Linked DNA regions of Homo sapiens: region 2 is linked to region 1. The links are contacts of gene promoters, found by promoter capture Hi-C in blood cells and fetal thymus (Javierre and others, 2016). All regions are on one chromosome and are shown on one strand. Each heading gives the region's core, a stretch centred on a gene start or on the middle of the fragment in contact. The rest is flanking DNA. Distances are from core to core; before and after follow the strand shown. Region 1 holds the start of RRH (retinal pigment epithelium-derived rhodopsin homolog). Region 2 holds the start of ETNPPL (ethanolamine-phosphate phospho-lyase).

What was found. The method cuts DNA at HindIII sites, captures the fragments that hold promoters and counts their contacts. A CHiCAGO score of 5 or more calls a contact.
Region 2: a contact is called between the fragment with the promoter of ETNPPL here and the fragment with the promoter of RRH in region 1, in 2 of 17 cell types (fetal thymus and non-activated CD4 T cells). The highest score is 6.5, in fetal thymus.

What each region holds. Positions count from the first base shown.
Region 1 is chr4:109,826,052-109,829,652 of GRCh38, forward strand. RRH (retinal pigment epithelium-derived rhodopsin homolog) reads left to right here and starts at 1,921. Exons shown (of 7, transcript NM_006583.5): 1 at 1,921-2,082. The coding sequence starts at 1,977. The HindIII fragment of the contact is 4,893 bases long and covers 1,771-3,601 here.
Region 2 is chr4:108,761,534-108,765,150 of GRCh38, forward strand. ETNPPL (ethanolamine-phosphate phospho-lyase) reads right to left here and starts at 1,520. Exons shown (of 13, transcript NM_031279.4): 1 at 1,310-1,520. The coding sequence starts at 1,365. The HindIII fragment of the contact is 7,360 bases long and covers 1-3,617 here.

The DNA of each region.
Region 1 (3,601 bases), core at 671-3,170:
AATGGTGCAATGTCGGCTCACTGCAACCTCTACCTCCCGGGTTCAAGCGATTCTCCTGCCTCAGCCTCCCAAGTAGCTGGGATTACAGGCATGCGCCACCATGCCCGGCTAATTTTGTATTTTTAGTAGAGATGGGGTTTCTCCATGTTGGTCAGGCTGGTCTCGAATTCCTGACCTCAGGTGATCCGCCTGCTTTGGCCTCCCAAAGTGCTGGGATTACAGGTGTGAGCCACTGCGCCTGGCCTAGTTTCTGGGTTTTTTTGAGGCATTTCATTTTGAATCAAATTCACATGTATTTCTAAGCCTTATCCCAATATAGCTTTTCTGTATCACCCATGAAGGAAGCATAAAAAAGAACTTCAAATGCACCTACCTCACTCATATCAAAACTTTCATCTGCAGCAGAAAGCTGACTATCTGAAATTATATATTTTTCAGTTCTTAGAAATAATTATTTCTGGAAAATTTTTCATGGATGCTACAACTAGGTATAACTTATTACAGAAAAGGAAGGTAGTATGACCCAAAGCAAATTCAAAAATTTTAAGTTTTGTTTTGCATATTGAATGAAAGAAAAGACAAAGACTTTTTAAAGGGAGTGATTTCCTCTTGGGTATTATGTTTTTTGCTCTAGGGTCATTTGAAAACAATACTGACGAGATTCGCTTTTCTAGTATAGGTATAACAATATTACATTTATAAAAATGTGAGTACTGGTAGCTATAAGATTTGGGACAGATAAATCAACCTGTTCATCTTGAGTTTATACACAGGCAAGAGAACTGAAGCAAAAGGATTATCTTAGGTTTCTGCTGTGCCATTCTAGGATTTTTATAAAATTAAACTAAGTGGGTAAATATAGCCCTCTAGTGGTTCTGTTTTATGCTTACACTGTTAACTTTGGTGCATCTAAGCATTTCTCTAATGTTTACTGATTTTAGGAAACTGAGGAGAATCAGATTTTAATAATGTTAATGGCATAAAGAATATGGGAAAAAAGGTAATAGGGATACCTTATTATTCTAACAAAACATGCTCAGGTTGGTTTTCAGGTTGTAATGTGATAATCCAGAATATTTTTATTCTGTACTTTACAATATCAGTGATTGAATTCAGATACTCTGGCAAAGTATACAATGATTACTATCATCAGATAATATTAATTACTCATGTGCATATCAAACTATAGGGGAAATTAACGGATGGTGGAGTTGATCATATTATATCCATGCTATGAAATACATAGCTACTAATAAATTAGACTTTATTAGATTCTGGGTTTATTAACTTGGATATTATAATACAGCCTTATGGGAAAACAAGTTGCATTATATATATACATTTGTACTTATTTTTTTCCCTCATTTTTATTTACAAGAAGAAAGTGGAGGAAACCTGAAACACTTGTATGAATATGTGTATAAGCAGAGAAAAGCCTAAGAAAGGATATGCACCAAACAATACTGGTACCTTTAGGAGAGTGAGATTTGGAAGTAGGAAGGAGACTACTTCTTTGTCACTAATATTTAAATTGTTAAGAAAAAAAAAACAACAAAAGGAGCCGAAATGGAAAGACTTGAATGGTCAACAGAAAACAGGGACCTTAATCCGAATAGTTTTAGAGGACTAAGGCTGGCTCCTATACTGATTTCCTGAGTTTGTTTATTGTTAAATGGGATGTGTGTGCTTGATAATCTCCTTAGATAGAAGACTGATGCCCAAATAGGTTAAAATGTGTGGTGCTTGGTATTTCTTTTTGTTTTGCTAATAAGCTTTTCCCTTATTCTGGGAATTAAAGTCCTTTCCTCTTTAGCCCAATTAAATTTGTTAAGGGAGGGCCTCTATGAAAAGGCCCTTCTTTGAGGTCTCTAAGTGGAAATGATTGGTCCTAAAAAATCTTTCCTCAGTAGCTCATAAAGCAGTTCATAATTATCGAAGGCTTATTATGAAGGGTGTTTCGGTATCTTCCCTCCAAAATGCTAAGAAATAATTTAGGCAACAGTTCAGACTCTAAAAATGAAGATGGCTCGGTCTTTTCACAGACTGAACACAATATTGTTGCAACTTACTTGATTATGGCAGGTATGGATATTTAAGTAAGTTATTTTTCTTTAGAATGGGTGAAGAAAGGCAGAAGTTTTCAGCATAAGGCATGCATTGTTTCAAGTTCCATATTATTGGCCAACCTTGACAAGTCATTTATCCTGACTTGGCTTGCTCGTTGGTAAATGAGGATGATGATACTCTATTTCTGGGCTGTAAAGATCAAATAAGATAATGTGGGTGAAAGAATAAGGGAAAGCATTGTTAGTGATGGCCATTGCCACAGGTTATTTTGAATTTTGGTAAATAAGAGCAGTGAAGTGGGGCTGAGAAAAGTTTTCTATGTGATAAATAGTTCTTTCATAAAAATCTATGTATTTGATTATTGGATTGTTAAAGTTTTTATTGGAGAAGAGTATGCACCATGGCAAAAACATATTTTTATGTCATTTACTATTCTTATACATAACCCTCATATTTTTGTTCTTGGTGGTAGAATTTAGCTAAGAACTTAAAGGTTCTGGAAAGAAAAAGTCCTAAGAAGACAGAGCAGGGTATATTGTCATTGAGGACAGAGTCTGAAAATTCAGCTTGTTCCAGAATGCTTATTGGAAAACTCTTGAGTTTTGGATTTCATCTTTTAGTATATTTGCAACTGTGAGCATGTATCTTCCCTTTTTGTTCTTCCATTTTCTCATCTGTAAAACAAGGATAAGAATAAGTTATCTGTCATGATTGTTATAAGGAGTAAAATTAAGTGACACATAAATGCCATATAGTAGGTGTTGGACAAATATTTGTTTCTTTTTCCCTTTCCTCCCTACACACTCATTGATGTAAAGGATTGTTTGCAGAAAAAAAGGGATGGGGGAATGACAGAAACTTTTTATCTTTTTAATGTATCATTGAATTGTGTAACTTTTATATTGAGCAATCACTTAATTTTCAACTTTATACTCTAACGAGTTGTAGAAGTAACTCTTATATTGAGTTCATTATTTTTTGGATTGACTTTTATAAAAATTTTCAAACATTCAAAAGTAGAGTGAAAAGTATAACACACCATCCTATACCCAGTTTATAATTGTTTACGTTTCTTCCTTATAATTCAGCGTATTACTTCTAGTACTGGAAATTGAGTTCCTCAGTTAAGTTTTGCGATTTTAGTGACGTTATCTCGTTCATTTGAATACCTCTATGATAAGTACTAGACAAGTTCTAGTTTTTTTGTAATTGCAAAAAAGACTGAGAAAATCTCCTAACAATTACATGGAAATACTTTGTATACAAGTGTTTGGTTTAGTTAGTTATTTGTAGATGACCAAAAAAAAAAAAAATCCAAAAAACAACCAAAACTATCCTTTTTTGACCTGGTTACAAAATTAGCATGCAGAAAATATTCTATTTAGTTCTTATCTCTGTAACAGTAATAATAATAGTAATCTTACTACTACTGCTACTAATGTTATCATTTGAATACTTGCTATATACCAAGCACTGTTCTAAAACCTTACACATACAGAATAATTCATCCTTACACTAATTTAGTAAGTTACTC
Region 2 (3,617 bases), core at 270-2,769, 1.1 Mb before region 1:
CACATTGCCTTTTTAATACACTTTCCACCTTGCCCGTCAGACTTCAGGTAAAATTCTCCTTTATCCAGTCAGCCCATGGCTACACTCGTGCTTTTAGAAAATTTGTTCTGCTCATGTCAGAAACCATTAGGCATTTACCGGAATCTAACTAAGATTGAAAACTAACGCAGTGAGTGATTAGAAAAAGTAGGGTAGTGATTGATTAATGGGGAAAGAACTGGATTATTTTGATCCCACTTAGCGGCTGAGAGAGATGGAACTAGTCTTCCAAACCACCCAGAAACCCCTCCAGTTGGGGTGAGGAGCTTCAGTCTGAGAAACTGTCCAGCATTCCTCCGAAGAGGATGCGGATTGTTTTCTTCCTTGTAACCCCAAGTGCTCTCTCATGCCCACTGGCCCGGCTGCAGTCGTTCATTTCAAGTGAATATTGCAGACGGTTGACTTTACAGTATTCGGGGTCATTAATCATCATTTATATTTACACGTATCTTTTTAAAAACCACGCACAAAACACTAACATATTAATCTCATCTTCTTGCTCCTGTGAAGTAGAATGTTATTCCTACTTTCATAGAAGAGACAATTAATTTGACAGAGGTCCACACAGGGAATATGACATCCAACGAGAGCTAGAGCCCCTGTCGGTCTTATATACTCACCTTTATATTACTAAGTCGTTTGTGACGGGGGCAAGACAAGCAGGCTGGGAAGAACACAGCTTGGGAGAGCAAGTTGGGTAAGAGGGATCTAAATAAAGTCTCTGCTTTTCTAACAGAAGGTGGTTTCAAGTTTTTCTATTGGCTAGATAAACCCTTCATCACTTAACCAAGCATGCAAGAAGAAAAAGCTCACTTTAAGTAAAAATTGTCAGAATTGGTTTGTTTGCGGAGCCATCATGAAAAAATATTTCTCAGTTCACAGTTTCCAAAAACTTTCGAGTTGTGTGGGGGTGGCGGAGCGCTATCCTTCTTCCACCCATCTCCCATCCCTGGAATGGTGTCTGCTAGGGCTATTGGCCGTCATCCACCAACCCCTCTAGCCGGCCGGCAGCCCCCGCTAGTCCGCCGGCTGCAGAGCGAGCCGGGGACTTTCGAGCGGGCAGGAAGCCCAGCGTTCCGGGTTCCAGGAGCGTTTCTGGGAGTCCGCGCGGCCCCTGCAGGTGGAGGCGCGCGGGGCGCGTGCACAGGCGCGGCGGGCACGGAGTGCGGCTGCAGCGCATCGTTTGTTCCCTAGCCGGCTTTCTCTCTCCACCTTCTGCACTCGTTATTGCCCCCTCTCTGCACTTACTTCCGGGCCAGGGTGCCCTTACCCGATGTGCTTCTTCCTCAGCCCCAGAGTGTCCCGCTTACTGTACAGCTCGCACATGGTGGCGGGGTGCAGGGCGCTGCGAAGGTGCAAGGTGCAAGGTCTGCGCGCCTCCTACGCGAGCCTGGGACTGCCTTGGCGGCCCCGGCCGGCCTTCCTCCCGTTATCCCTCCTGGCGTTCTCTTGCCCGGGGCGTCGGAGGTCACCGGTGGCGTCAACTAGCTAGGATCATCTCCCTTTTAAGTCTGGCTCTGGCGTTGCCCTTTGCCAAGCCCCTCCTCCTCCCCCGCCGGGGCCGCGGGCAGGTCGCCGGGCTAGCAGCTCATTCGCCACCACCCTGTCCTGCCAGGCCGGCTCGGCCCTACCCGCCCCTATCATTCCTCTGAATTCGCCTTTCATTCTCCTAACTTTGCCTCGTCTTTGCTTTTCCTCCTCCTCTGCCTGCGAATTCCCTCCTTCCCACGTTCTTTCTGGTTTCTTTTTAGTGTAGTCCTTTATTTTCTGGTAAAAATTCAGGAGTTAGGCGCTTCCCGGATCAAGACTCACTGCGCAGTCTGATAAGGTAACCTACCATTTACTCAGCACAAGGACGCGTCCTAACGAGAAATAACCCGGACTCAGCCTGTTATCTCCATTGGCAGTGATGATATATGCAGTGTTTCAAACATCTCCTTTAACAATGATTACACTTCTAATTCCTCTAACTATACAACTTACAAAACACATTCACATGACTTATCTTGTTCAGTCTTCAAAACAACCCTGAGAGATGACCACGAGTGTTACCCCATTTAATGAACGGGGAAAGTGAGGTTATTCCCTGTTCTAATGATTATATATCCACTTGATGCTGAAAACGGGACTCATTCTTAGATTTCTTGACTTCCTTCAAGATGGTCTTCTCACACAGATCATATCTGAAGCTAAATATGTGCACAGGTAGAAACTTTTTTTTTTTTTTTTTTTTTTTTTTTTTTTTTGAGGATGGAGTCTGGCTCTGTCACCCAGGCTGGAGTGCAGTGGCGCAATCTCGGCTCACTGCAAGCTCCGCCTCCCGGGTTCACGCCATTCTCCTGCCTCAGCCTCCCGAGTAGCTGGGACTACAGGCGCCCGTCACTACGCCCGGCTAATTTTTGTATTTTTAGTAGAGATGGGGTTTCACCATGTTAGCCAGGATAGTCTCGATCTCCTGACCTCGTGATCCCCCCGCCTCGGCCTCCCAATAGAATCTTAATTAACTGAATCATTAAATCATACATTATTTTAACTAGAAGTCATCTGGTTTAACTTCTCTGCTCTGTAGATAAGAACAGTGAGGCACAGGAAAGGTGAAGGTTTATTCAAGTTCACACAAACACTTAGTCATTGGGTTAAGGATAGGTCATTTTATTCTCTCTGTGTTTTGAAAGGGCAGCAGGGAAAGCCTAATTTGCATGTATCAACACATTTGATAAGTATTTGCAACTGATCTTTCTCTTGAAAAAAGTTATTAATATATATTCATGCACTGCAGGAGGAGTAGAATTGGATTGCCTAAGGTAGAAAGAGAAATGGAGTCCTATGAGGAACAGTGTGTTAATTCCAGATTTTAGGCCAGGCGCCGTGACTCACGCCTGTAATCCCAACATTTTGGGAGTCCAAACTGGGCGAATCACCTGAGGTCTGGAGTTCCAGACCAGCCTGGCCAACATAGCAAAACCCCATCTCTACTAAAAAAATACAAAAATTAGCTGGGCGTGGTGGTGGGCACCTGTAATCCCAGCTACCCAGGAGGCTGAGGCAGGGAGAATTGCTTGAACCTGGGAGGCAGAGGTTGCAGTGGGTTGAGATCATGCCACTGCACTCCAGCCTGGGCAACAGAGTGAGACTCCATCCCCCTCCACAAAAAAAAGAAAAAAAAAAGAATTCCGTGTTTTATAAATGAAGAGCAGGAAGCACTTTGGAGACTTGCAAGAAATCCCAGTTATGTAATCTTGGTCTAGTTCTGTGCCTGAAAGATATTGCCAACTGTATATCTACTCTCAAACCACCTTGACCTGGTGAAGTCATAGTCACACTTCCTTCATAAAACTTTATGGATTCTTGTTGTTAATATTCCCAGTGCCTTAAGAAACTCTGGATTAAGAGTCTTGGGTTCTAGATCTGGTTCTTCCATAAACCAGCTGGGCTTCTTAACCTTTCTGAGGCCCAATTTCTTTGTATTGAAAACTGAGCTCTGTGGCTGGTGGGGAGCTACACAGCTGTAATCCCAACACTTTGGGAGGCTGAGGCAGGTGCATCACTTGAGCTCAGGAGTTTGAGACCAGCCTGGG